Regions from separate parts of the Homo sapiens genome. Here regions 2, 3 and 4 are each linked to region 1. Evidence: promoter capture Hi-C in human tissues and cell types (Jung and others, 2019). All regions are on one chromosome and are shown on one strand. Each heading gives the region's core, a stretch centred on a gene start or on the middle of the fragment in contact. The rest is flanking DNA. Distances are from core to core; before and after follow the strand shown. Region 1 holds the start of MRPS6 (mitochondrial ribosomal protein S6). Region 2 has its middle 39 kb from the start of IFNAR1. Region 3 holds the start of CLIC6 (chloride intracellular channel 6). Region 4 has its middle 9.5 kb from the start of RCAN1.

Region 1 (7,341 bases), core at 3,202-5,701:
GGTTGACCTGACTCATACTTCAGTTTATTAGCACCCTCCATCTCCAAAGGGTATCTAAAATACAGGCACTTCATAGGCATTACTTTCAGAACATCCTAACTTGAATAGAACTCTAGAACAAATACAAAACTTTTGCCAGGTGTTCTAATCAAAAAAGGCTTGCATTTAGAGAAAAACTCTTCATCACTCTACCAGAAAACCAACTGTTTTCTACATTTTAGGAACTGATTATACTTTTCTATATTCAAATTAAACCAAGTCAGAACTCAAACTCAGATTACACAAAACTCCTTACCCTACCAAAGTACTATTTCAATGAGTTATCTAAATGTAAAATATAATCTGCGTTGAGTATTAAACATAAAAATTACTGTTTGTTTTAATAAGAACTTAAGATTTCCAAAATAGCTATCTTCTTTATTCCTATTAGAAAAACATATGAAGATATATATATATAAATGCTATCTTATTGTACATGCAATGGAATCATTTAGCAAGTGAATTAGTTATTAAGCCATTAACCTTTAATTCTTCATGTAAAAATTCCTGAACGCCAATGAGAAGATTTCAGGAAAAGTATTATCCCAGGGCTTTCATAATCTATGCCAACTGTGAACACCTTCTGGGAAAAGGGCACGAGACGTAATTAGCGTTCCTAAAGTAACCACAAAATACTTATGTATTGCACAGATTTCTTTCCTCAGATTTCTTCTTCCTGTATACCCAAGGCATAAAAAGTGTCTACAAAGTTTCATTTTTTTCCTAAGCTCCTCTACATTATACAGTATGCGGCTTTACCATTCATGTATTGGCACTTCAGTCTTTTACCTAACTGAAATACCAACCTTTAAAATCTAATTATCAAGTGAAACCAAAGGGCTTCAACCATTTTCCCACTCACAAGAGAGCTCACTCACCAAACACATGACCCCTTCTCCTCATCTACCTCAAAGTTCTCATTGCAGGGGGGGCAGGGTGGAGGTGGATATAGACCTCACCATCTCACAGGCAATCCATTTCTTTTTCCATTGTCAGAGGTCTTCCTCACACTGAAATGAGGCTACCTGGGACTGCAGCCTTGGTCTCTCCTTTGCGGCTATGTCCTTTCACATTACAGCCTTTGAATACTGTGTTTTCCAGAAGTGAATAAAACTCTCTTGATGCTATCTGATATGGGTGTAACAGGACTTTTAAAATCTTTTTATTCCAGAGACTCTTCTATAAATATGAACTAAGACTGGTCTAAACAACTGGTTTTTCAAATTGCTTGTCACCTTTAAAGGCCTAGTTTCACAACATCCATTACTTTACCGTCATATTTCAGAATTTAACCACACTTTTACCTACTTTTCACGCTAAAACAGAAAATAGAAATAACTTTTTTTATATACACACTTTTTTAAAAATCAAGCTATATGGTACTTGAAAATAAATTTCTTCTTAGAAACACTAGTTAACTACATTCCTAAATGCCCAAACTTGGAAGTACAAAAGTAGATACTCATAATCAACTTCTACTTGCAAACTGAGAAAAACATAGTATTGGAATTTCTGGGTGACTAATTGTACAACTGTATAGTTCAATATGACTGACTCTACATAATACACTCTGAAATCTTTCAATGGGCATTCCCGCAACTGACTTTGCTACAATCCAGATACTGTGACAGCCAACACAGGGCCTGTATTTTAAATTTTAAAACTTTGCAAGCTCAATTTAAAGGAGTCAAGCTAGGGTCAAAAAAAAAGTAATGAGGACAGGGAGGAGTTAATATTCTCCAAACAGACTAAGAATGCTCTCCAGGCTGAGTACTGCGGAGAAAAAACAGGAGAGCAGCTCTGGGAGTCCAAAGGCTGGAAAACTATAGTTTCTTAACTTCCATATCCGCTGTTAAAGTTGCCTAACACAGCATTTTCCTCAATTCCAAGATGCACAAATGATTTGGGGAGGAAAGGAAAATACATCATATTAAAGGGGTAAAGAGGTATACACTTAAGAATCTAAAAACGTGGAAGATACGCAACTTTGAACTGAGGAGCTTCAATACCCTTCTTGCAACAGAAGCACAAAGTGCCTCGGGTTAGAACTGTGGTTTCTCCAAGGCCTGCTACCGGTGTGCAAGCTCACAGTCGCATTTTTCATTTCATAAGCCTAGAGTTAACTTTTTAAATTCGTTTCCCCCCAAACATTCATCCTATTTTAGAATCCTATTTTCCTAAACTGAAAGCAAGCAAACTGGTCTAAAACCTGGAAGTCTTTGTGTTTGTGCCACATTTACAAGCTACAGATAGGTTTTTGAACAAATAACTGAGAAGCTATTGTTTAATATTACTTTATTTAGGTCAAGGATCTCCTCAACATAACTTCGCCATTGTACATAAGTCACCACTGTTACAACCTTCTATCTACTGCCATGGGGCCTCTTTCTCCAAGAGGCAGTTCACCTTTATTATCTACTTTCTAGGGCTTTTTTTCTTTTTTTTGCCCCCCTTCCCTCATGCGAAGATTTCAAGGAAGGTTATTTATTATTTTAACCAAATTACGCTCTGTTGATCTGAACTAGAGTGAAAAATGGGTGCTCCACATCCAAAGGCTATGTTATTACAGGACATAAAAAAAAATGGTAAAAGAAATACACTTAATACTTGCAGCCATGTTAACCAAGATACTTGGCAACTATGGCAAAAACAAAGGGGAGGGCAAGTCTTCATTTCAAAGGTTTCAAAGGGTTACAGAATGAGCAAATATTATTGCCTACAGGTTGCCTCTTTCAGTGTCACCTGCTACCTCCCCAAGACAAGGAAAGTAAACAAAAGGAATTTCAGTAACGAATTTCCCAGGTTCCACATTCCCTAAAACACGTAAGTTGAAGGGAGGGCTTAAACAACTTCCACCTAATTAAAAATCTTCCCTTTTAATAATGCTTTGTTTTCACTGCTCCTATCCTTTCGGAGTTACATATGCTGGTAAGCAAGGAGGAGGGCCAAAAGGGATATTCAAGAGGCTGAACAGATACTATCTTAACTTCTTCCAAATCCATGAAGAACAAGCTGGGGGACACAATGGCATGCCTGGCCAGGCTGTCTGGACCTCATAGAGAGGCACTGGCGTCCCTTCCCAGTTAACAATATGCAAAGCACACTTCCTAACAATCTCCCGACGCTCCGTGATTGTTAGTTTATCAATTGAGCTTAAGTTCAACCAAACTTGGTAATACTCCTCGCAATTGACCTGGAGCCTAATTTCAAACGTAAAAATGCGTCCACTCCTCTAGCGCTGTAGGAAGCTGTGCTTACAAAGTTCGGACGTGGTACAATGATTTTTGTTTTATTACACCTGGTGGAGAAAAAAAAACATAACACCAAACTACGTTACCGAATTCCGAATTCACGGGAGAATGGGGATTTCGGCGACGACTTGAGGAGTACATGACCCAGGACAGAGGACGAAGTGAGCTGCCTCCGGGCCGCGGGCCCCTGTCCTTGGCCACGCCGTCACCTGAAAGGGGCCGCTGGTTCGCTTAGCATCCCTCCAAACCTGAAATCCCCTACCTCAAGATCAATCAAAAGCAGGGGGAAGAAAGTGTCTTCTGGAGGCGCAAGAAAGGCCACAACTTGGATGAATGAAACTGGGCTAAGGGCACCCGGAGCGGGATTTTCGCTGAAGTCAGAAAAAGAAAAGTCAAAAGATTTTTTTTTAACATGAGAGCGATTGCAAGAGACTGGAATACAGACAACGGCACAAACAAGCTTTGGAGGAACGCTTTATTGGGCGCGGACGTTCCGGGCGGCCGGCGGGCGCTAGAGCGGAGGCGGTCGGCGGCAGCCGGCGGGCGGCGGAGCGGGACGGACCAGGCGGCGGCGGCGGGGCCGGCGACGAGGCAGCTTCACGACTGGCGGGGACGGGCCGGAGTCGGGCTGGGCGCCCGCGCGTGTCCTCCCGCGGACCTTCCACTGGACTCCCGCGGGCCGGCGCCGGGATCGGGGTCGGGGCCCGCTCGGTCCGCCCCGCCCCCCGCCCGGCGGGCCGCTTGCGAGGCACACCCTCCCGGACCGCGCACACGCGCAGGCACACCCCCGCCTCCCGCGCGCACGCGGCCGGGCCCGGCCGGCCCACGCGCGCCCCCTTCCCGCGGACGCCCGCCGCCCGCCCGCCGCCCCGGCCTCCTCCGAGGAGTGCAGGAAGGCCCGGGGTCCCGCGGCCAGGGCGCGCGGGGGACGGCGGCCTAGCGGCAGCGGGGGCGCCCGCGCGGGAAGACCGGCTCTGAGGGAAGGTCACTTACCCGCTGCATGGCTTTCAGGATTAAAGCCAGCTCGTAGCGGGGCATGCCTGGAGGATCGGCGAGTGCGGCTCGGAAGCCAGCCGGTTCCCGGGACGCGAAGGGGCGGGACGGCGGGGACAGTGGGGACCTAGAAACTGCTGCGCCGGACGGCTCCCAGGCGGCGAAAGCACGGTCCGAGAGCGCGAGCCCGGGCTTAAAGGCGCTGGCAGCTGCGCAGACGCCGCGCCACGCCCCCTCGGCGCGCCCCGCCCCGCCCGCGCGCCTTGCCGCCGCCCCGCCCCCTCTCCGCCCGCGGGCGGCCGCCACGCCCCCTCCGCAGCCCCGCACCCGCCGCACCGCCCCCGCCCCGACCCCAGCCCAGCCCGCCGGCCGCGGCTAGGGGCGGTGCTGCAGACGCGGCCCAGAGCGGCTCGCGGCGGCCGCACGCCCCCTCGCGACCCTGCCTGCCCCTACCCCGCCTCCTGCCATGCCTGCTACCTAGCTCTCGAACCGGCTGGAACTTTCCATGCCTTCCTTCTCCTCCCGGGCGGCGGGCGAGTGAGTGCCCGCCAGTGCGCGTGCGCTGCGGTGCGGTCTCGTCCGTGCGCGTGCCCCTCGCCCGCGACTCCCCGGAGCTAGGGACCTTCGCGGCGCAAGGCGGGGTCGCGGCCGGCCCGGGGGCTGTGCGGCCAACGGCTGCTCGCAGGGGTTCTGGAACATTCCCGCCCGGGGTCGGTAGGGGGGTGCAGCTCTCGCCCCCAGCCACAACTCTCAGGTCTGACGCGGCTGACCAGGCCCCCTACCCGGCGAGGAGCGCGCTGGCACAGGCCGTGGGCCGCGGCGCGCGGGCTCGGGTCTGACTCAGTCCCTTGGCACTGCGTGACCTTGGGCCTGCTGCCTGTGCCGAAAGTGGGGACCCGAGTGAGTTACTGCACGTTAACCTCCGAGGACGGTGCCTGGTACACACAGGCGCGATACGGGCATTTGTGGTGTGCCCCTGACCTGCCCCCACGTGTTTCAGCGGAGGGCAGGCGAACACCTTAACTCTATCTCATTTCTTTAAATGTTTCCTCCGCTTTCACTTAAAGGCTAGGCTGAGTGCCTGGGAGACCCTTTAGCAACTGTCTAAGGTGGGCAGGGGCATACGTTCTGCCCTTGCCATCCCTTTACACCCACATGGTTCTCCGCCCTCCAGCCAGGGGCTCTGCAAGTGCAGTTTTCTCCAGCGCCCTTCCTTAGAGGTTGAGTACCCTGCAGCTGAGGCCTCTGCCCCTTGTTTGCCCCATTAAAAGCTCTGTACGTGGAGTGTTTGTCAACTTAAAGTGCTTTAACGTTAATAGGTAAAGTTTAGTGAACACTTACTCTGCATCAGGCCCCATGCCAAGGCTGGTGGATGTGTCTCCTAAAATTCTCACAACAGCCCTGAGGTGACAAAGATTCTTTGCTTGGCCAAACTTTAGTCAGGCTTCTGAATCTCATGCTAGGCCCATCTGTGCACTTCCTTGTAAAATCCAGTTCTAGCACAGAACCCCCATCCCCTCATAGCAGATCAGGTTCCTCATCTTCCTCTATCCCCCAGTCATGTCTTTTCACCCTGGCCTGAGTTCTACAAGAATCCTTTAGATCGGTTGAGCCAGAATCCCTCTTCCCCCGATGGTTACTCTTAGTGATTTTACATGGCCATAAATTTCTACTTGCCGACGCTGCATTCAGAATTGGAGCCCACTCTCTCTCCCCGGGTTTCCCTGATCCCTGTACCCATCGCGTTGGTCCTGAATAAAGTCTTTCTTACCATGCTTTAGTAAGCATCACTGAGTAATTTTTTTAAACAGAGGCAAGCACTGTTAACCCCATATTAGGGATTAGGAAATGTAGGCACAAAAAGTTTTGTAACTAGTCCAAGGTCATACAGTAATAGAAACAAAGTACTTTTAGCCGCCCCTCTACCCTTCTGACCTCCGGTTCTCCTACCACACAGATGAAGATGCTGATTGTTATTCAGTGGATTAACCGTGTAGTCCACGTAAGCCAAGATTAGAGTACCTTTGTCACCTTACCCAGAGGTTACCATTTCACATCCCATGCGTCTATTTGTGACATATGGGAGGTAGGAGATGGAGATGAACCCAAGTTTTTCTGAGATAGCTGGATTTTAACATTTTCTATTTTTAGACTTGTCTACAACCCATACCTGTGTGAAGCCACACAGGTAATCCAAATTGCCTGGCTAAGTGTCAATTAACTTCATGTTTGGTTTAAATAAGTAGCGTACTATAAATAACAGAAGGAAACAAGGAATTTCTGGACCTTCAGAAGTGAGTTACAGGCTGGGTGCAGTGGCCCACGCCCGTAATCCCAATACTTTGGGAGGCTGAGGCGGGTGGATCACCTAAGGTCAGGAGTTTGAGACCAGCCTGGGCAACATCGTGAAATCCTGTCTCTAATAAAAATACAAAAATCAGCTGGGTGCGGTGGCACTTGCCTGTAGTCCCGGCTACTCGGGAGGCTGAGGCAGAAGAATCGCTTGAACCCAGGAGGCGGAGGTTGCAGTGAGCCGAAATCGCGCCACTGCACTCCAGCCTGGACGACAGAGCGAGACTCCATTAAAAAAAAAAAAGTCAGTTACAGATTTTCTAGAATGGTCCCACCCCGACTGTCCCCTGTCTTGTCAATTACATGACCCAGTTTAGTAATGAGAAAATAAAGACCCCGTAGTAATATGCCAAGTCAAACACTGAGGCGGCGCAATGAGCTGACTTCAACTCAGAGCATTTCCTCTTGGAAGCTCTTTAGTTTTCCCTTAATGCCCAGGGATGAGTGAAGACCTGGCATCTTCTCTACTCCTTCTAACTTGACAAGTGGTATAAGGAAATTAACCTGACTGCGTAATACCTCACCACAGAGTCAGCATCCCCAAGCCCTCCCAGTCTGGTAGCCACCCACAGACTCATTCCATTTCTTAAAAGCAGAGAGAGGGCAGCTACTGTGATTTTCCCCCTTCAACCTTTTTTTAACAAGCACAGAAGCGGCCGGGTACGGTGGCTCACGCCTATGATCCCAGCACTTTGGGAGGCCAAGG
Region 2 (7,341 bases), core at 2,755-5,254, 710 kb after region 1:
CACACCGAACAAAGGAGAGAAGGGTTTTTACCCCGCATGCAGCTTCTGTTCCTGTGTCCTTTCCCCATTGGTTGGAGTTGGACCGCACAATCTAAACTAACCCAACTGGATAAGACTTAAACTTTCTCTAAATATGGCAAACGTGCAGTTAAGAGAAGGATGGGGTAGGAGTAGTTTGTCTGTTAGAGTACAAGGCATGTCTGAACATGTCTGGGCATGTCAGGGCACAATCAGAGCGGAAGAGTTGTTTGCAGGCTAGAAATGAGAGTACAAGGAGGTTGGGCTTCTGAACAAAGAGCAAGAACTTTACACAATTAAACCCTTTGAAGAGGAATTTATCATTCCTAACAATGGGTTTTTTCAAGACTACTCCTGATCTGTCCATCAGGAGATGTATAATGTTTGGCAGTTTCTGTTTTTATAATGTTAGCTGCTGGGTTTTTTCTTTTCTTTTCTTTTTCTTTTTGTTTGAGACAGGGTCTCAATCTGTCACTCAGGCTGGAATGCAGTTGCTTGATCTTGGCTCATTGCAACATGCACCTCCTGGGCTCAAGTGATTCTCCTACCTCAGCCTCCTGAGTAGCTGGGACTCAGGTGTGCACCACCACGCCCAGCTACTTTTTTGTATTTTTTGTAGAGAGGGTTTTTACCATGTTGCCCAGTCTGGTCTCAAACTCCTGGGCTCAAACGATCCACCTGCCTCGGCCTCCCAAAGTGTTGAGATTACAGGAGTGAGCCACCACGCCCAGTCAATGTTAGCTGCTGTTGATTGTAAACTGAAAAGTATCTGAGACAGGTCTCAATTGAGAAGTTTACTTTGCCAAGGTTAAGGACAATGCCCAGGAGACAGGTCTGTGCCTTTCTCCAAAGATGATTTTGAGGGCTTCAATATAAGGGAAAAAACAGGCTGGTATGGAAAGAAGGAGGGTATGGTCACATTATCGAATCCACAAGTTGCAAGAGAAAAGGAGCAGGTAGGGGAATAGTCAATTTCAATTATGTATTCCTTGTATGCTCAGAAAATCAGCACTTTACAGAAGATAAGGTGAACACAGAGTAGGTTAAATATCCCCCCCAAGACACTTACCTTTACCTCTAGCTCTCTGCTTAGGAACAAAAGGAAAGGCAGCTTCTTGCATGACTCAGCTTTCAGCTTAGTTTTTTTCTTTTGGCAGAGTGAATTGGAGTCCCGAGTTTTTATTTTCCTTTCATATCATGCTCAGCAACTAGATAGAGATAATTTTTGATAAATGTTCACTAAATAGCTTTTGACCTATAAATCAGAAAGAATCCAAAGACTCGAGTGGAGGTGACACTTTGGGATTCCTTCCAAGCCCATCACAAAGCCTCACCCCAAAACATGGAAAACAGGAGCAGCAGAGGCACTAGGTCCTGTCTCCATGTGGCAAGAAGGCATGTTCATCTGTGACACCTGCAGGCATTGAAGGAAGAGGGAAGAAGCTCCATCCAGTTAATTAAGAGATGTATTTCCAGGCAGGGTGTGGTGGATCATGCCTGTAATCCCAGCACTTTGGGAGGCTGAGGCAGGCAGATCACTTGAGGCCAGGAGTTCAAGACCAGCCTGGCCAATATGGTGAAACCCTGTCTCTACTAAAAATCCAAAAAATTAGCCAGGCATGGTGGCATGCACTTGTAATCCCACTTGCTCGAGAGGCTGAGGCAGGAGAATCGCATGAACCCAGGAGGCAGAGGTTGCAGCAAGCTGAGATAGCACCACTGCACTCCAGCCCTGGGTGACAGAGCGAGACTCTGTCTCAAAATAAATAAATAAGTAAATAAATAAAAGAGATGCATTTCCAGTGAAATTGGACTTTTTATGCTGAAAAATTATTTATCAAAGGTTATGAAATATTTGATCAACTGTATACTAATAATTGCAATAATAATCCAGAAAAGCTATTTTTCTTTCTTTCTTTTTTTTTTTGAGATGGAGTCTCACTCTGTCCCCCAGGCTAGAGTGCAGTGGCTTGATCTTGGCTCACTGCAACCTCTGTCACCAGGGTTCAAGTGATTCTTCTGCCTCAGCCTCCTGAGTAGCTGGGATTACAGGCTCCTGCCACCGTGCCCAGCTAATTTTTGTATTTTTAGTAGAGACGGGGTTTCACCATTTGGCCAGGCTGGTCTTGAACTACTGACCTCGTGATCCACCCACCTCGGCCTCCCAAAGTGCTGGGATTACAAGCATGAGCCACCGCACCCAACCAGATTTTTTTCTTTTTAACATTCAGAGACTATGATCATATAAAAAGAAATATATCAATTTATATACTTTTTTGTTGCAAAGATATACGATAGATGATCAATAAATCTACTGCATGAAGATGAACTTTTGTGGGAATAAGAATATGAATTCAAGGAGGAAAGGAAATGGTGTAAAGTTTCAGAACCCATAAAGAACAGTTTCTGGAGTTTCTTTTTAAAAAAATTTTTAAAAAAATATTTCTGAGACAGGGTCTTGCTCTGTTGCCCAGGCTGGAGTGCAGTGGCACAATGTTGGCTCACTATACCTTGACCTCCAGGGCTCAAGAGATCCTCCTACCTCAGCTTCCCAAGTAGCTAGAATTGCAGGCACACACCACCACACCTGGCTAATTCTGTTCATTTTTTTGTAGAGACAAGGTCGTCTCACTATGTTGTCCAGGATGGTTTTGAACTCTTGGACTCAAACAATCCTCTCGCCTCGGCCTCCCAAAGTGCTGGGATTACAGGAGTGAGCCGCCATGTCTGGCCGAGTTTCTGTAATTTCAAAGTAGACAATGATGGGTATCAAATTGCTTTGATAGGAGATTCCATTGAATGCATTTATAAGAGCGATAAAGCAAGTTTATTTTAAAATGTGAATATTTACAACTTACTGTAAAGTATTTCTTTTGCAACTATTTAAACGTGTCAGGAAATATTTTAGATGTTAATTAAAACATGAAGAAATAAATGGATTTATAAAATTCTCTTGGGGGTAAACAAGCAGAAATTAAGACATGAAATGTTTAAAGTTTACCTCCATCCAATCTCCCTGCCCTACTTCTCAGTCTAAACCTTGGTGTTCACATTTCTTCACTGATGTAGAGCAATGAGGAAGTACTTGCCTTATGTTGACATCAACACAAGCCTACGTGATGAACTGCACACTCACGACAGAGTCTCACTTTGTTGCCCAGGCTGGAGTGCAGTGGTGCACTCCCGGCTCACTGCAACCTCTGCCTCCCGGGTTCGAGTGATTCTCCTGCCTCAGCCTCCCGAGTACCTGGGATTATAGGTGTGTGCCACCATGCCCCGCTAATTTTTGTACTTTTAGTAGAGATGGGGTTTCATCATGTTGGCCAGGCTGATCTCAAACTCCTGGCCTCAAGTGATTCACCCACCTCAGCCTCCCAAATTGCTGGGATTACAAGCGTGAGCCGCCAAGCCCAGTCTGCACACTCACTTTGAAAAAGGATTTGTATAGCTTGTAATAAGACGTTACTATACTTGTATTCTGGGCAGATAAAATAATGGCAGAGAGCAGACTTCCTTTAGAAAAAGGAGGAAATAATGTATCAGAAACCAAGGATGAATCACTTACTGTTAAGTCTGCCCTAATTAAAAATAAATAAGTAAAATAGTGACCTTTTTAAAGCTGGGTGTGGTGGTGCACACCTATAGTCCCAGCTACTCCAGATGCTGAGGCGGAAGGATCGCTTGAGATAGAAGTTTGAGGCCAGTCTGGACAACAGAGTGAAACCCTGTCTCTTAAAAAAAAAAAAATTACTATCTTAACCATTTTACACATACAATTCAGTAGTATTACCTATTTTCAGAACTTTTTCATCTTGAAAAACTGAAGCTTTATAGCCACTGAACAACTCTCCATTTTCCCCTTCCTTGAGCCGCCAGCAATCATCGGTCTAATTTCTGTCTCTAGAAATTAGATTGCTTTAGAAACCTCATGTAAGTAGAATCACATGGTATTTATATTTTTGTTGCTGGCCTATTTCACATAGCATACATAATGTCCTCAAGCTTCACCTATGTTGTAGCACATGACAGAATTTCCTTTTTTTTTTTTTTTTTTTTTTTTGAGACGGAGTCTCACTTTGTCGCCCAGGCTGGAGTGCAGTGGTGCGATCTCGGCTCACTGCAAGCTCCGCCTCCCGGGTTCACGCCATTCTCCTGCCTCAGCCTCCCGAGTAGCTGGGACTACAGGCACCCTCCACCACGCCCGGCTAATTTTTTGTATTTTTAGTAGAGACGGGGTTTCACCGTGTTAGCCAGGATGGTCTCGATCTCCTGACCTCGTGATCTGCCCGCCTCGGCCTCCCAAAGTCCTGGGATTACAGGCGTGAGCCACCACGCCCGGCCTCAGAATTTCCTTCTTTTTAAAGGCTGAATAATATTCCGTGGCATGTGAACACCACATTTTATCTGCTAATCTATCAAAGCAAATATTTTGCAAATAATTTTTCCAATTCCAAAGGTTGTCTTTTCCATTGATTATTTCCTTTTATATGCAGAAGTTTTTAAGTTTGATGTAGTCCCATTTGTCTACTTTTGTTTTTGTTGTCTGTGCTTTTGGTGTCATAGCCAATAAATCATTGCCAAGTCCAATATCATGAAGATTTCCCCTATGTTTTTGAGGGGAAAAATCTCAAACCGTTTTTCCTCTGCTCTCATGCCACAACAATAAACACAGAAGACTTCTGTGACCAAATGCGTAGTGATTTCTCCCCATTAACAAGAAGGCAATCAATTCTGCAGCAGACACTGGTTGGGTATCCTCCTATTTAATTCTGACACTGTCTACCTGGAGATAGCATCAGATCCTGATACAACACCTAAACAAAATTTATTTAGGCAGTTAGTGAGGATAAAAGAGTCCTCAGTAAGGTTTGCCTTTTAATAAAAAGAAGCCCCAAATCATTTCTTTTCTAACAAAAAGAGCCTGAAAACTCAAGCTGCAAACATAGATAAGCAAACTGGAAGCTTGCATAGGCGAATGCCAGCAGCTGTGCCAATAGGAAAGGGATACTTGGAAGTCAGGTATATTCAATATTGAAGTTCCCTTTTCCCTTTTCTTTGTTGCCACGTGTGCAGTAAAAAAGCAGGCAACAAGGCCTGGGCTAGGTAGAGGTGCCATTTGCATAATAACAGATGAGGGTGGGATGGCCAGCCTCTTCCTGTGCTATGTAAATGGAACACCTGGTCCAACCAATCCTCTGTGCCCTACGTAAATAAGACACCGCTTCCTCAAGCTCATCTATAAAAGCAACCGCATCTCGCTGTAAACCCGGAAACCTGTTCGGGACTCCTTCCTCTGCACAGGGAAGGTCTCTTCTTTCTTTTGCCTGCTAAACTTCCGCTCTTGAACCCACTCCTTTTGTGTCCCCATCCTCGATTTCCTTGGCGTGGGGCAACAAACCACACGTATTACCCCAGACAACCATGCTGCTTCAATCTCACAGGTTGAGAGCTCATTCCCACAAGACTGCCCCCTTATTTCCGATGCCAATTGCAAGCCCCAGGTTTTACCTGTTATGACTGAATGACTATAAATTGAGGGTCCCATGGCCCCCTCCTTGTGTTCAACTGATTTGCTAGATTGCCTAACAGAACTAGAGGAAACACTAACTTATGTTTACCGGTTTATTATGAAGGCTATTACAAAGGATACAGATGAAGAGATACATAGGATAAGGTATGTGAGAAGGACTGCAGAGATTCTATGCCCTTCCCAGCAGCCTCTGCATGTTCAGCTATCAGGAAGCTCTCTACTAAAAATAGAAAAATTAGTTGGGCGTGGTGGCAGGCGCCTGTAATCCCAGCTATTCAGCAGGCTGAGGCAGGAGAATTGCTTGAACCTGGGAGGTGAAAGTTGGAGTGAGCCGAGATCGCCCCACCGCACTCCAGCCTGGGCGACAAGAGCAAAACTCTGTCTCAAAAAAAAAAAAAAAAAAAAAAAAAAAGGAAGTAGTGACACGAAACACTGTCTCCACACTCCACCCTTATAACCTCCAGCTGGCACCCTGAATGGTCTGGCCTCTCCCTGGGGGCGGATAGGGCAGGAGACACTAAAGTATTAATTATCTTTTTTGATCATGGCTGTAACTGTTCTGCGCCATCTTCAACAGGTGAGACTAAGGAGGGAATCACAGCTAGTCATCTCAGCCAGGCCAGTAGGGGGCGCAGTGCAGTGATCATTCCCTGGGGCCAAGGCTGTCTCCTTGCAGGTTCATCTCAGCTCTGCAGCAATGCCTACTTCTTTCCATCCGCTCCGAGGCTGTTACTAAGTATGTGGAGCTCCTTTTCAACAACTCGCTTACTACAAAGTCCTGCTCATTAAAAGGCGAAGGTGGTAGTGGTAGAGGACTAGATGGGCTAAGTATTTGCTCAACTGCTCTATCTTGCTTTGTAACTACCAAACCATTTCTGGGTGAGATCATGGGGACACCAGATTCTTCACATCCTTTCCTCATTTGCTCAAGACGAGATAATCACAAACAGAACTTTAAGAAACCACCTGTATAAACATACTTGGCGTATCTTCTGGGAATGGAATTATTGAATAGTAACCGATTGTCAGCCTGAACAGGGTGACTTGTTGCCCTCCAGTGGTAAATTCAATCAGTGTTTGTACCGTCAACGTCCCCGCTCAATCACCGTTAAACACTTAGGCAACCAAGTGTCAGCCACAAAGTTAAAAAACAGTCCTTGTTTTCATGGAGCTTGCCAAATAAATATAAGCAAATGGTATAAAATCCCTTCCCTAGGGAGCATGCTAGACACACCCGCAGGTACAGACACAGATGGGGCATGATGACTTCTCCACGTGTATGCAGTGGAGTTCTTTTAGGGAGATTTCAGAGTGGATGATGTACTTTTATACTACAACATTTAGAATAATCTCTCTAAGTACAATTCCAGAATATTAAAAGTATTATAAAATTTGGGAATAGACAACAGAGTCAAGTACACAAAAAGCCTATTATATATTTAAGGACTATGTTTAGAAAAAAGGGTCCTTTTACTGGAAAGATAGGAAAATAGGTTTTTCTTCTTAACTTTGATGTATCCAGAAAATCTGGGAGGGAGGCTCAAGGGTGGTGAGTCACTGTGAGACGTAATGTTTAATTTAATCCAGCTATTGAGTGATAAAATTTTTCAACTTCCTCCCTTTTCTCAAGACCTTAAAAAAAAAAAAAAACAACAGAACATCTTCTCTGCCAACATTTTTTTTCTTTTGAGATGGAGTCTCGCTCTGTCGCCCAGCCTGGAGTGCAGTGGTGCGATCTTAGCTCACTGTAACCTCCGCCTCCCGGGTTCAATCGATTCTCCTGCCTCAGCCTC
Region 3 (7,341 bases), core at 3,539-6,038, 590 kb before region 1:
AGGGCTGCTTCGCTCCTGCGCCTTTGGAAGTGCCCGGCCCGCTGTCCGCTGTCCTGGGGTTGACCAGAAGTCCTTGGTGCCAACTCCATCCCCTGGGGCTTGGGCGGGGTTTGTCTTCCCCTCCTCCCTCCTTTGTTTGGGTAGCCTAGGAGCTTGGCCAATGACAGCCTTTCTCGTGACCCTTGTGGATGTTGATGAAAAGATTCTGGTTCTCCTGGCCGCTTGGGTGTTGTTCTCTAGAATGGCTTCAAGTTCCAGAGTCACTTAAATCACCCCCTCCAAACACACACCCCGACACCCAAACACCTAATCCCCACCTTACCCCAGGAGTGAAGCATCAAGCTCCCCCGGTACCCAACTGAAGATGTCCACATTGTGCCTGATGTCCAAGAGCAAGGGTGTAAATCCCTGAGAGAAGAAGCTGGGGAGGCTACGCTGGCCGCCTTCCCATGTCTGCAGGGCCCCCGGAGAGGTTCCAGAGGCCCCTCATATAGACGCACAAGGAGCCAGTCGAGTTTCTCTGACCAGAGATGGGCGCTGTTGTCCATGAGGGTCCGCTTCTCCGGGCCTGTCTGGAGGATCGTGGGAGCCCTGCGCTGGAAAAAGGTTACACCTTCATCTCCCGGGTCTCTTAAGACTGTAAGAGTCTGTGTATCTTGCTGATTCTCCTAGATTTCTAAACTCACCACCAGTGCTTCTGCCTCCAAGTTAAGAGCTTGGGAATCTGGAGGTGGAGAAAAGAAAATCCAAGATGTGAAAGAGGGGAGCTATGGAATTCCCTGGGTTAGGGTTCTCCCAGGATCACAGACCCAATACCTACTTTAAAAAGGAAGTTATTATGGTGAAAAGTATGTCGTAAGTTTATTATAAGCCAGGCTACTTCTAGTGGGTTACCAAGAAACTGGGTTACCCAAGGTGGCACTATGTAAATGTGGTGGAACGGGGATCCCAGCTCAAGACTGACTTGATTCATCAGGCTTTATATGGCTTTGATATTGGCCTAAGATACATGAGCCCCTCATGCCCACAGAAGGTTGTTTTCGTTGAAAGAGCTGGGTGTGCCTTTGATGTGGCTTGGGGTCACACCTTTGGCCATGAACATAATGTGTCTCCTTCTACTTCCCATTGCTCATCACTGATGGATGACAGGACAGGAGCCCAGAGACACTCAGCTTCATGCTACCTTTCTCCAAGGCTGTGCTCTGTCTGGGTAGGTACAGGCCAGAAGCTTCATCACCACAAAGTGGCATCTAGTCAAAGCATGACACTCACACAGGTGAGCCAGAGATGCACGTGAGCCGTAAAAGCTCTAGGCACCTAGAAAAGGAATCCTGCTGCATTCACCGGGGCAAGGTAGCAGCCATCACCCTTATCTTGTAAAGAAAGATGAAGCCAGCACGTTCAGCCCGGAACAGCAAACACAGTACAGGTTTACAGTGCTTTATGCAAATCCCATGAGCCCGGATGTGTTTCAGAAAACAGAATTGTTAGAAAGATGATTGAGTGATTTTACTGTATATTACATAACACAGAACATCACTTTGTGATCAAACACATTAATATTTCTGCAGTAAGACAGGCATCACATTTGGTGAGATATGGTAAAATCATACAAGCTTCAGGCCCCCCACCCCCAGTTTAGGTTCACCTCCAGCTGAGTTCAAGCCTTTCTGGTTCTGATTCTAGATGAGTTCCCAAAACAGCTTTCAGTATTCAGAGCCTTTTAGGATTTCAGAATGTGTATAAAAGGATTGTGGACCTGTGAACCATTGAAGGGCTCTGGGTTTATTTGCGCTGCTTAGAAAAATGTGAGATTAGTTAGATACATAACTTTGTCCTTAATAACAAACCGTCTTCAATGCTCAATGTTTACAAAGAACCAAATTAAAGACACTCATGCGAGTAATAATATTTAGCAAATTCTTTTAGCAAAGTCAGTAGATAAGAATTTCTGTCAATAGAGTGTCTTGTGACATTAGCTTACCCCCCAAAGTATAAAACTAACTGAGGAAAGTATTTTCCAAAACTAGTTCAGGTTGGTGCATATGTATTTGAAGGCACGTGTGTATTCAGTCATTCAGGAAATATTTCATAAACTCTAACTCAATCAAACTTGATAGAAATGTGCTGGCTATTGGGGGGGGGTGTGGTTGGAATATCTAGAAAAACCTCCTTTTGAATTGAGCTAAAGATGATCAGCTACTGTTTGCAGACTTGGCACAGTCGGAAACAAAGCTGTTGGCTGAGTGGCTGAGAACTGGCCTGAATAATGTCCTTGCAGAAAAACAATGCTAATAAAGTCTATTCTGTCCTGGAAACTGATCCTGTGGATCACACAAGGCTATTTGATCTTATAGGGTTTGGATTTATTCTTTTATAGGGTTTGGGGTCATTTACTCACATTAACATTGGCTCTCAAAATAACATTCTGTCTGCAGAATGTAGAATTTTTCACTTAATGATAATAAGCATTTTAAAATTTTCTATTATATAATTTTGCAAATTTGTTCAATCTTCTGAAATTAAATAAAGTTTGTTTTTAAATAAATGCAGGCTCAATGCTGAAAATGCAGAAGACAGAAAATAACAGCTCCTTACAATTTTTCTGTAACCACATTACCGATAGCTAAATACTTTCTTTTAAGAGAGAAAGAGAAAGAGACAGATTGTTCCAGACACTGGATATACAGCAATAAACAAGACTGGGAAGGTCCCTCTTCAAATGGTATAAAGCAAAAAAAAAATAAAAATAAAATAAGTAAAAAAAGAAATGAGATAATTTTGGATAACATTAAGCTTTATGTAGACACATATGCCAACGTGTGCACAGACATGCCCAAACTGAAAACCTTAGCTCTTTTCTTCCAAACCCTACATCCAACCTGCCAGTAAATCCAACTGGCTTCACTTTTTAAAAATATATACCCAAAGCCAGGCATGGTGGTGCACCTGTAGTCCCAGCTACTCGGGAGGCTGAAGCAGGAGAATCACTTGCGCCCAGGAGTTCTAGACCAGCTTGGAAGCAGCATAGTGAGATGCCATCACTAGAAAGTACACAAACACACACACACACACACACACACTCACACACGTAAAATCCAACCTCTTCTCTCTATCTCCATTACCACTGTACCAGTCCAAGTCACCATCACCTCCTGTCACCTAGATTATTGCCACCACCTCCTAACTAGTTCCTGGCCTTCGACAGTCTGCTCTCCACTCCACAGCCAGCTGATCCTCTTTGGAAATCATGAATCAGACCATGCCACTTTTATGCTCAAAATCTTTCAAAGGTTTTCTGTCTCACAGTAAGAAAAAGTCAAGTCTTTATGCATGAAGTATAAGGTCCTATAAAATCAGGCAATCCCAGTCTCTTTCTGGCTTACTAGACTTCTGCAGCCCCTAAAACACCAGCCTGCTTGCCGTCCCTAGAACTTGCTGGGCCTCTGCCTGGGATGCCCCCTATATTCTCATGGCTTACTCCCTTACCTTGCTGCAGTCTCTGATTAATTATTTTCCCCAAGCACTCCATTTTACTTTTATAAAATGGCTAGAGTGCAGTGGTGTGATCTCGGCTCACTGAAGCCTCCAGCTCCCAGGTTCAAGTGATCCTCCTGCCTCAGCCTCCCGAGTATCTGGGACTACAGGCGCATGGCACCACATCCAGCTAATTTTTGTATTTTTTTTAGTAGTGATGGGGTTTCACCATGTTGGCCAGGATGGACTCGATCTCTTGACCTCGTGATCCGCCTGCTTTGGCCTCCCAAAGTACTTGGATTACAGGCATGAGCCACCATGCCCGCCCCAAGCATTCCATTTTAAAACACAACCCCTACTCTCTGGCATCCTTCTCTGCCTTATTTTCCCCCATAGCAGTTATCTTCATCTGACACATAATATATTCTAGTTGTTATCTGTCTGCCCTACCTCACCCCACTAGGATGGTGATTCTGTGAAAGCAGGGGTTTTTGCTTGTCATTGCCTAGGATAGACCAGGCACATAGTAGAGCTCCATAAATATTTCCTGAATGAGTGAATACACACGTGCCTTCAAATACATATGCACCAACCTGAACTAGTTTTGGAAAATACTTTTCTCAGTTAGTTTTATACTTTGGTGGGCAAGCTAATGTCACAAGACACACTATTCACAGAAATTCTTTTTTTTTTTTTTGAGACGGAGTCTCACTCTTTTGCCCAGGCCAGACGGCAGTGGTGCTATCTCGGCTCACTGCAAGCTCCGTCTCCTGGGTTCATGCCATTCTCCTGCCTCAGCCTCCCGAGTAGCTGGGACTACAGGTGCCCTCCACCACGCCCGGCTAATTTTTTGTATTTTTAGTAGAGACAGGGTTTCACCGTGTTAGCCAGGATGGTCTCGATCTCCTGACCTCGTGATCCACCCGCCTCGGCCTCCCAAAGTGCTGGGATTACAGGCATGAGCCACTTACAGAAATTCTTATCTACTGACTTTGCCAAAAGAATACTTTAGCAAATTCTTTTAATTATTAGCAAGGGCTCAGTCAGTTCATATAAAGGAACACAAAGGAAATACCAAATAAATAGACGTGTGAAGGTCGCTATGAAGTCACTTAGAGACGTGCACGTTGTTAACCTGGCCTCCAACACTAGATTAGCTATTTAAATACCAGGGAGGGTTAAACAGAGGTGACAGATTCAGAGGTGGATGACAAGAAATGAAAGCGTTGATATTTAAGTAACTTTTAATAATTATACAGTCCTTCTGCCATATATTATAAGGAATCATGAAGCAGGTAAACTCGGATTACAAGAAAACCTTAAGGGCTTATAAACAATGTAAGGGTTTGTTGCTTTTGTTGCTTTTCCAGAAGGAATGGCCTCATCTCCATAGAAATCTGCTCTTTCTCTAGCAGGTATCTGCTCCTTTCAGAAGAGCCCGTGGGATTATAATGTATCTGTAACATTTAGATCACAGGATACACTTAGAGCTGAGTAAAGTTTCTCCTTGCCTGGAATTCTCCTCAAACAGTTGCACTCACTTACCTACAAGTGGCCCCAAACCCGCTTCTTAATCTGGCTGGCTTTCTTCAGTTACTTGGTAAGGTACATTTCAGTTAAAAGAAGAGTGTCACTGCAGAATAGGTTGTACTAGGAGGCAGGGATTTCAAAGCCTGCTAGTCAGTAGATCCTGAAGCACGTACACATCATCTTGCAGGTCAGTAAGAACATTACATGGAACTGACACACATGACAATCATGGTGAAATGGGTGGTTCTTGGATTAAATGGTCTGATTTAAATCCCTGCCCTATCTCGTAATAACTATATGATCTTGATTCAGTTTTTCATCTGGAACAGTGAGGGTTATAAAAGGAACCTTGTCATTGTCAGTTGTTTCACTGATACATATTTGTACATTATTTATGCAGTACATGTGATATTTTATTACATGCGTAGAATGTGTAATGATCAAGTCAGGGTATTTAAGGTATCCATTACCTAAAGTATTTATCATTTCTATGTGTTGGGACCAGTTCAGGTCCTCTCTCTTTGTTATTTTGAAATAGACAATATATTGTTGTTAACTTAACTATAGTCACCCTACTGTGCTACCACACATTAAAGCTTATTCCTTCTATCTAACTGTATGTTTGTACCCATTAGCCTACTTCTCTTCATCGTCCTACTCACCCACACTCCCTTTGCAGCCTCTGGTATCTATCATTCTACTCTCTACCTCCATGAGACCAACCATTTTAGCTCCCACATAGGAGTGAGAACATACAACATTTTGACCTTAACATAATGACCTTCATAGTGACCTTCAGTTCCATTTGTGTTGCTGCAAATGACATAATTTCATTCTTTTTATAGCCACATAATATTCCATTGTGTGTATATATATATACCACACTTGCCTTATCCATTCCTCTGTTGATGGACACAGGTTGATTCCATATCTTGGCTACTGTAAATAGTGCCACCATAAACATGGGGGTGCAGGCATCCCTTTTTTATACTGATTTCTTTTCCTTTGGATAAATAACCATTTAGTGAGATTGCTGGATCATATAGTAGTTCTATTATTAGTTTTTTGGTAATCTCCATTCTGTTTTCCATAGTGGCTGTACTAATTTACACTCTCACCAACAGTGCCCTTTTCACCACATCTTTATCAGCATCTGATTTTTTTGTCTTTTAGTAATAGCCATTTTAACTGGAGTAAGATGGTATCTCATTGTCATTTTGATATGCATTTTCCTGAGGATTAATGACGTTGAGCATTTTTTCATATACCTGTTGGTCATTTGTATGTCTTCTTTTGAGAAATGTCTATTCATGTCCTTTGCCCACTTTTTTTATTGTATTATTTGGTTTTTTACTGTTGAGTTTTTTGAGTTTCCTGTATATTCTGGATATTAGTCCCTTATCAAATGATAGTTTATATTTTCTCTGATTTGACACAATGTCTTTTCACTCTGTTGATTATTCCCCTTGCTGTACAGAAACGTTTTAGTTTAATATAGCCCATTTGTCTTTGGTTTTGTTGTTTGTGCTTTTGAGTTCTTAGCCAGTTTAAATCCAATGTTTCTTAGCTAATTTTCTGTCTAGATGATCTGTATAATGCTGATACTGGGGTGTTGAAGTCTGCAACTATTACTGTACTGAAGTCTATCTCTGCCTTTAGATCTCATAATATTTGCTTTATATATGTGGGTTTTCTGGTGTTAATACATATATGTTTATAATTGTTATATCCTCTTGCTGAATTTATCCCTTTATCATTATATAACAACCTTCTTCATCTCTTTTTGCGTTTTTGACGTAAAGTCTGTTTCATCTGATATGAGTATAGCTACTGCTGCTTGATTTTGGTTTCTGTTTGCATGGAATATCTTTTTCCATCACATTACTTTCAGTCTATTTGTGTTTTTACAGGTGAGATGAGTTTCTTGTAGGTGACATATAGTTGGCTTGTGTTTGTTTTTTATTTATTCAGCCAGTCTATATCTTTTAAGTGGAAAGTTAATCCACTTACATTTAATATTATTATTGATATGTGAAGTCTTATTCCTGTCATTTTATTAATTGATTTCTGGTTGTCTTGTATATACTTTGTTCCTTTATTTATCTCTTATTATTCATCATTGTGGTTTGGTGGTGTTCTGTAGTGGTAACATTTGAGTCCTTTTTCTTCCCACTTGTGTGTCTGCTCTACCAGTGGGTTCTATACTTTCATGTGTTTTCATGATGGTAGATATTATCTTTTCATTTCCAGATATAGGGCTCCCTGAAGCATTTCTTGTAGGACCAGTCTAGTGGTGATGAATTCCCTCAGCTTTTGCTTGTCTGGGAAAGACTT
Region 4 (7,341 bases), core at 2,291-4,790, 550 kb before region 1:
GTGGGAGTGGAGGTGGGGATGGGAGGAATTACATAGAAGCAGGAAGATACTTGCAGGAGGAAGGATATGCTCACTCTCTCGAAACATCACATTGTACAGTTTTAATATGTTTAGTGTATGTCAGTTGTACCTCAGTAAGGTGGTTTCAAAAATATACTTGCAGGCCAGGTAATCCCGCAAGCCTATAATCCTAGCACATTGGGAGGCCAAGGCGAGCAGATCACTTGAGGACAGGAGTTTAAGCCTGGGCAACACGGCTAAACCCTGTGTCTAGTAAAAAAATCCAAAAATGGCTGGGCGCAGTCGCTCATGCCTGTAATCCTAGCACTTTGGGAGGCCGAGGTGGGCAGATACGAGGTTGGGAGATCAAGACCAACCTGGGTAATGTGGTGCAATCCCATCTCTACAAAAAATACACAAATTAGCTGGGTGTGGTGGCACGTGCCTGTAATCCCAGCTACTTGGGAGGCCGAGGCAGGAGAATCACTTGAACCAGGGAGTCAGAGGTTGCATTGAGCCGAGATCGTGCCACAGCACTGCAGCCTGGCGACAGAGTGAGACTCTGTCTCAAAAAAAAAGAAAAGAAAAGAAAAGAAAATCCAAAAAGTAGCCAAGCGTGGTGGCTCAAACTTGTATGTAGTCCCAGCTACTAGAGAGGCTGAGGCATGAGAACTGCTTGAACCCGGGAGGTGAAGGTTGCAGAGAGCCAAGACTGCACCACTGCACTCCAGCCTGGGTGATAGAGTGAGACTCTGTCTCAAAACAAACAAACAAACAAACAAACAAAAAAACAAAAAAAAAGCTTGCTCCACAAAAAGCTATACAAGCATTGGAAAAATCAATGTGAATTTGAGGAAAGTGATTAGAATGTAAAACAAAGAGACCAACTTTTAGGGTCTCTTTAGTGCTCCCTAAGGTGGAGGACAGATGGACATCTCAATGGCAACCTCCATACTCATGGAAGGTTGTCTGAAATGTATACAGTCCAACCATTATTGTAGAGTAAATTTATTCCTGAATTAAGCCAGATGGAGGATGGCACTGTCAGCTACCTCAGAACTGCTTTCATGTAACAAATGGGACTTGGGTTAATGTTCCCTGAGCTGGCATTTATGGAAACTCTGAGAAGCAGCCTTATAAAACCTGCTCTTCTGTTTATTTGAGGGCTGTTGGCAATCATCCATTTATTCCTTCATTCATCCATTCATTCCTTCAGCAGTCAGCTGTCAAGTGCTTGAGGTTGGGGGTGCACATATAATTATAAGAAGGTGGCTGGGCATGGTGGCTCATGCCTGCAATCCCAGCATTTTGGGAGGCTGAGGCAGAAGGATTGCTAGAGATCAGAAGTTCGAGGCTGCAGTGAGCCAAGATTGCACCACTGTACTCCAGCCTGGGAAAGAGAGAGAGGCCCCATCTCTTTTAAAAAAAAAATTATAAGAAGATGCCTCTTCTCAAATGACACACACATTTGATACCACAAGTATCAAATGTCTACTGTGTGCCTGGCATCATGCTGTGTACAAGGAAACCAGCACAGTTCCTGTCCTCAGGAGGCTCACAGTTTAGTGGAGAAGAAAGAGAAGAGTTCTAATGAAGTATGATTGCTGCATGTCATAAAAGTAATTAAGAGGGCATCATATGATGGACTGCATCTTATAGGGGACCGCAGCCTTCATCTGTTAGAGAATTGAATGATCTGTGTTTGTATACCTAGTCCTGGGAAAAGTTCCTGGTAATCAGATCAACCACGGGATGAAGAAGGCTCCAAAGTCATCAGCTCTGCCTTCAAGCAAAGATTCAGTCTCGAAGCAGCTTAGGTGATCCACGTAAGAAATGATGCAGAGAAAGAAATGGTTCTGAGCTGAGAGACCAGGAGTGGGACTCTAGGAGAGGGGGTAAACTCAGCTGATGCGGCACGATGATTCAGCAGGGAAAGTGGACAGGACTTGGCGACTGGCTGTGTGGAGTGGGCGAGCAGGTCAGTTGGTGGGGGAGTCGGGGATAAGACAAAGGGAGCAGTTTTCAGGGCTCCTGGGTTTCTTCCCCGGTTACTGAGCAGCTTGTGGGTAGAAATCAGGACAGAGCAGAGTGAGTAGACTGGATGGGAAAGATGGCTTTCATTTTGACCTGTTGTGTTTGATGTGTTCTTGGGAAATTAGCCTGTGTTTCTGACCTAGGTAAAGCCCCTCAGCCTGAAGTCGCAGTCCAGGGGTTAGAGCGAGACAGTCTGGGAGGAAGCAGCTCTCTTTGGTGGAGTTTTGCCCACCATTCCCCGCTCATCCACCCTATAGGTCAAGGTCTCCATGGTGGAAGGTGATGACCTCCACTCACTGGGATGAGTGAAAAATATTAGCGCTTCTGTTTATATTAGGTTTTTCTTTTTTCTAAAAAAGAAAATTATTCCTCTGCTGCTTTATTATGTGGGTTGACCCTGGTGCTTGCTCTTGCTGCAGAAGCCAGACAGGCATCAGAGGGGTGCACTAGGCCCCCTGATGGGCACCTGGGGTGCCAGGTGGTGTGGGCTGACATGGCTCCACACACCTTCTCTGCTTCCAGAATTGTGCTGTTATTGCAGATCCCAAATTTTCATTAAGAGAATGTGTGGTTTATATTATCTAGTCTTTAACTGAGCCAGTCCTCACACAAACAGGCAAGTGTCTGGCAAGGATGCCTGCTAAGAAATGGTATGAAGCTATTTCTTTTTTTTTTTTTTTTCAGGATTCTTTTTACTTATTTATTTATTTATTATTATCATTATTATACGCTGTGCACGTGTACCCTAGAACTTAAGGTATGAAGCTATTTCTAAGGACATAAGCAGAGATGAATGGCAAGAAAGGAACAGAGCTGGTACATCTCCCCTCTGCGCATGAGCAACTGCCAGCCAGGTTACAAGGTTCGAGCCATGGTGATGATTTAACATAAATAAATAAACCAGCTTGACCTGGCCCTTCAAGCACAAGATGCCAGTTAACAATGTGTGAGAAAGTAATCACTGTCTGCCAGAAACTTGTGCTACAGTAAGAATATCTTGAAAACAGGAGTTTGGAAAGGTTTCCATCATTAAGTGATTTTATTGCCAAAAAACGATGTGTGACATCTATAAAAGTTCTCATATCTTGCACTTTAAACTAGGAAACACAATTTTATCAGCTGTCTAAAAGCTTCCAAGGGGTTCTGTGAGTTTTAAAACCCATTTGTGAAACATAAAAACGAACAACTTCCAATTAATATGAAAAAACAACTCATTGATGTCAAGGAGCATGGAAATTTACTCGGTGATAATAATAATCCCTTCTAAATTTGGTGGATGGGATTGAAAAATGGATATTGTGATTTAGTAAGCACAGCACTCCATGCTGCTCATGGTTCTCCACGATTTCCCAAAAGGATGAGGCATGTTTAATAACATTACACTGACTAAGACATTGTTAATAAGTCATTGAGAATAACAGGAGATTTTTAAGAAAACAAAATATTTTTGATTCTGAATAAATAAGATATATTTTTCATCGTTTCTCAGCCTTTTGGTTAAGTTCAAGTATAAAATACATTTTTCATTAATTCATTTAATAAATATTTATTGAAGTCCCCCTCTAGGCCCAGGACATTCTAGGCGGGGCAGAGTGGTAGTGAAAATAAACAGCTTCCCTTCATCAAGATTCCACTCTAGATGAAATGAGGATGACAGCTCAAGACATATTTATATTTGTGTTTATTTCTCTATTCTTATACTTTAAAAATTCCTATTTCTCTTTATGTTTTATAACGTGCATTACATATATTTTGGATAGAGTGGAGGAGACAGATAAGTCATAAATACTTGTGTTTTTATTGCACATCATATAATATACACAATTTAATAATACATTGTAACATATCTTATCTGCCTATATTGCTATATTCATGTATGATGTATGAACATATATTCATATACCATCTAGTACATATTAGATACTATAGATTATAATTATGTTGCAGCATGTGTCATATTATACATAAGACATATAAATATATTTGCTTATATCTACTAACATATGTATATATCGTAATTGCATGTAAACATTAATATATATACATATATTTGCATGTTGTATACATATTTGATACTCATATGACATTGATACTCATATGACATTGGTGTGCATATATAATCCTCCTATATTTTTCTAGTCCATTTGTTCTCCCACATTCCTAGAAGATCACTTCACATTTTCTTCTCTTGCCTTCAACACTCAATGCCACCTTCCTCATCCTCACACTCAGACTCCTCTTTTACTGAGAAGATGGAGATGAACACAAGTGGCTTTCACCAGCCCTGCCCCAATATTTCATCGTCCCATGCACTGATGCCCAGGGTATCCGTGGTACATGCTGCTTTCCTTCAGTGTCGATGGACAGATTTGCTTTGCCACCTGGGACCCGCCTCTCTGTTCATGTACCAGGTGCTCTCTCTTTCCCATAGAGATGGCTGCAGAAATTCTCTCCCCCTCCCAGCCCCGGTCATCAAGCTTTCCTCTCTCCTGGATCATCCCAACCTGCAGACAGGCCTGGGGTGGCTTCTCCCATCTTCAACCAAACGAAACCCTCCCCTCACTCCCACTTCCTCTTCCATGTACTATTTCACTTCTCAGTTCTCCTCACAGCACAACTTCTTGAGAGAGTTGCTTACACTCATTATCTTCCATTTTTCTGCTCCCAATTGGGCTTTTACTTCTAAATAATTCTCCAAAATTTATCTTGCCAAGGTCAAAAAGGACTGCCAAACTTGGAAATCCAAACTCAGTTCCCTGTCCCCACAAAGCTGACCTCTCAGCAGCGCTAGTCACAGAGGGCTCTTCCCAAGCTGACTTTCAGCAGCGCTGGTTCCCTCCTCTGGGAAGCCCTTTCTGTTGTTGGCTTCCAGAATACCCCACCTGCCTGGTGGCTCTTGAGCCTCTCTGACCCCCCTTCTCAGGCACCACTGCTGGCTGGTGTCTGAGTGTCACTGTGCCCCTGGTCCAGACCCCAGACTCTCTTGTCAACAGCTACACTCACTCCCTAGGGGATCTCAGTGGCCCAGTGGCTTTAGATGCCATCTAGAGCCCTGTCCCCCCACTGTCACCTCTAAGGGGTCTCTCAATCCTGAATTGCTCCAAAGTAAGCTAAGGATAGCTGTTCCCCAACCTGTCCCTCTCACAGTCTACCTTATCCAGGTTAGAGGCAGCTTCTTCCTGTAGCCTTGGAGTCAGTCTTGATGCCTCCTTTTCTCTAAATATGGCAGATAGGCCGGGCACGGTGGCTCACGCCTGTAATCCCAGCACTTTGGGAGGCTGAGGCAGATGGATCTCCGGAGGTCAGGAGTTCAAGACCAGCCTGGCCAACATGGCGAAACCCCGTCTCTACTAAAAGTACAAATAAAAAATTAGCTGGGCATGGTGGTGTGCGCCTGCAATTCCAGATACTTGGGAGGCTAAAGCAGAAGAATTGCTTGAATCTGGGAGGCGGAGGTTGTAGTGAGCAGAGATCATGCCACTGCACTCCAGACTGGGCAACAGAGAGAGACTCTGTCTCAGAAAGAAAAAAAAAATAGCGATTCTCCTCAGAGCCCACAGAAGGAACACAGTTCTGCTGACCCCGTTTCCCCATTTTAGACTTATGCCCCCCAGAACCATACATTTGTATTGTTTTAGCCACTAAGCTTATGGTAATTTATTATCGCATCCATAAGGAACTAATACCCTGAGGAAATCCTGTTGTCTGAGCCTTCAAAATATAGAAAGAATCTTACCATTTTCTTACCACTTTGGGTCTTCCATCCAGACCCAAGTTCCCACCTTTTCCCACTGGGATGATGGCAACAGCCTCCTGAGAGGTCTCTGGTTTCCACACTTGTCCCCACACAGTGTTCTGTGCACACAGCTCCCAAGTGAGTCCTCCTAGTAGTTGTAAGAAAGATCAGGTTAGCTACTTTCTGCTCAAGCCTCCACCAGCTCCCTGTCTCAATGAGGATGAAACCCAAACTCCTTCCTGTGACCTACAAAGTTCTATATGATCTGACCCTATCACTTTTCTGAACTTTACACTACTCACCCCCTTGATCACTCACCCAGCCCCAGAAGAAACCTATCACAGCCTTTGCAGTGTTGCTTCAACAAGATGAGCAGCTGCTGCCCCCAGGACTTTGCACTTTCTCCTCTGCCTGGAGTGCTGTTTTCCAGAAGTAGCCATGGCATTCTCCCCCTTCTTCAGTCTTCCCTGGTTGCTAGAGCTGAAATCCTCCCTCCTCCCTATTTCCAGTTCCTTTTCTTTGCTTTATTTTTTTGTTCCTTTGTACTTCACCATGCATATCATCAACATCTACATGTTGTATTTACTTATTTTATGTATTGTCCATCTCTCTCCTTCCCTCCACTACCACCACTAGGAAGTACACTTCATGAAGTCAGGGACCTTGTCTGTTCTGTGGACCGTCATAGCTCCAGCATCTAGATAATGCTCTGCACATAGCATCTGTATTAGTCTGCTTTCACGCTGCTGATAAAGACATACCCAAGACTGGGTAATTTACAAAGGAAAGAGGTTTACTGAGGTTTAATGGACTCACAGGTCTACATGGCTGGGGAGCCATCACAATCATGACGGAAGTTAAAGGAAGAGCAAAGGCACATTTTACATGGCAGCTGGAAAAGAGAGAATGAGAGCCAAGCAAAAGGGCCTTCTCTTTATAAAACCATCAGATCTCATGAGACTTATTCACTACCATGAGAACACTATAGGGGAAACCATCCCCATAATTCAGTTATCTCCTACTGGGTCCCTCCCACAACATGTGGGAATTATGGGAACTACAATTCAAGACGATATTTGGGTGGGGACACAGTCAAACTTTAACAGCATCCCAATGAGTGTAGAAGTCCCCTGAGCCAAAGTCAGGCTGAGTCAGGCCCGGACAAGGCTTGCTTAGTGTTGTCACTTTAGCCCTCCTCTGGGTGAGTATACAAGCATGAAGGCATCATTATTCAACACACCAGGCACTATTCAACATCACTAGCAAGTAAGATATGACTTCTACAGTATAGGGTAGAATTAAGGAAGGAACGCATCACAGCAGTTAAAACCCTGAGGGAGGACACTGGGAGAAGTACCAAGGATGCCCTACCCCAACCCCTTAAAGCAAGTTCATCCACCCCACGGCCTGCAGGCTGCATGCAGCCCAGGGCAGCTTTGAATGTGGCCCAACACAAATTCGTAAACTTTCTTAAAACATAAGGAGATTTTTTTTTGTAATTTTTTTTAGCTCATTGGCTATCATTAGTGTTAGCGTATTTTGTATGTGGCCCAAGACAGTTCTTCCGGTGT

The links. Contacts are between HindIII fragments. The study calls those that stand out against the background at their distance.
Region 2: a fragment that was not itself captured here is called in contact with the fragment with the promoter of MRPS6 in region 1 in 2 of the 25 tissues and cell types used here (aorta and liver).
Region 3: a fragment that was not itself captured here is called in contact with the fragment with the promoter of MRPS6 in region 1 in 2 of the 25 tissues and cell types used here (IMR-90 fibroblasts and lymphoblastoid cells).
Region 4: a contact is called between a fragment that was not itself captured here and the fragment with the promoter of MRPS6 in region 1, in 1 of the 25 tissues and cell types used here (heart left ventricle).

Annotation. Positions count from the first base shown.
Region 1 is chr21:34,070,688-34,078,028 of GRCh38, reverse strand. It overlaps MRPS6 (mitochondrial ribosomal protein S6), which reads right to left and starts at 4,451. Exons shown (of 3, transcript NM_032476.4): 1 at 4,284-4,451. The coding sequence starts at 4,328. SLC5A3 (solute carrier family 5 member 3) reads right to left here and starts at 4,451. Exons shown (of 2, transcript NM_006933.7): 1 at 4,284-4,451. RefSeq lists silencers at 3,794-4,193, 4,484-5,003 and an enhancer at 3,590-4,540. The HindIII fragment of the contact is 15,607 bases long and covers 1-7,341 here.
Region 2 is chr21:33,360,254-33,367,594 of GRCh38, reverse strand. No RefSeq gene overlaps it. Among named protein-coding and RNA genes, the nearest start is that of IFNAR1, 39 kb to the right of the region's middle. RefSeq lists enhancers at 1-340, 341-1,042, 1-1,192 and a silencer at 6,078-6,372. The HindIII fragment of the contact is 4,809 bases long and covers 1,600-6,408 here.
Region 3 is chr21:34,661,714-34,669,054 of GRCh38, reverse strand. CLIC6 (chloride intracellular channel 6) reads right to left here and starts at 61. Exons shown (of 6, transcript NM_053277.3): 1 at 1-61. The HindIII fragment of the contact is 6,731 bases long and covers 1,423-7,341 here.
Region 4 is chr21:34,620,948-34,628,288 of GRCh38, reverse strand. No RefSeq gene overlaps it. Among named protein-coding and RNA genes, the nearest start is that of RCAN1, 9.5 kb to the right of the region's middle. The HindIII fragment of the contact is 3,113 bases long and covers 1,984-5,096 here.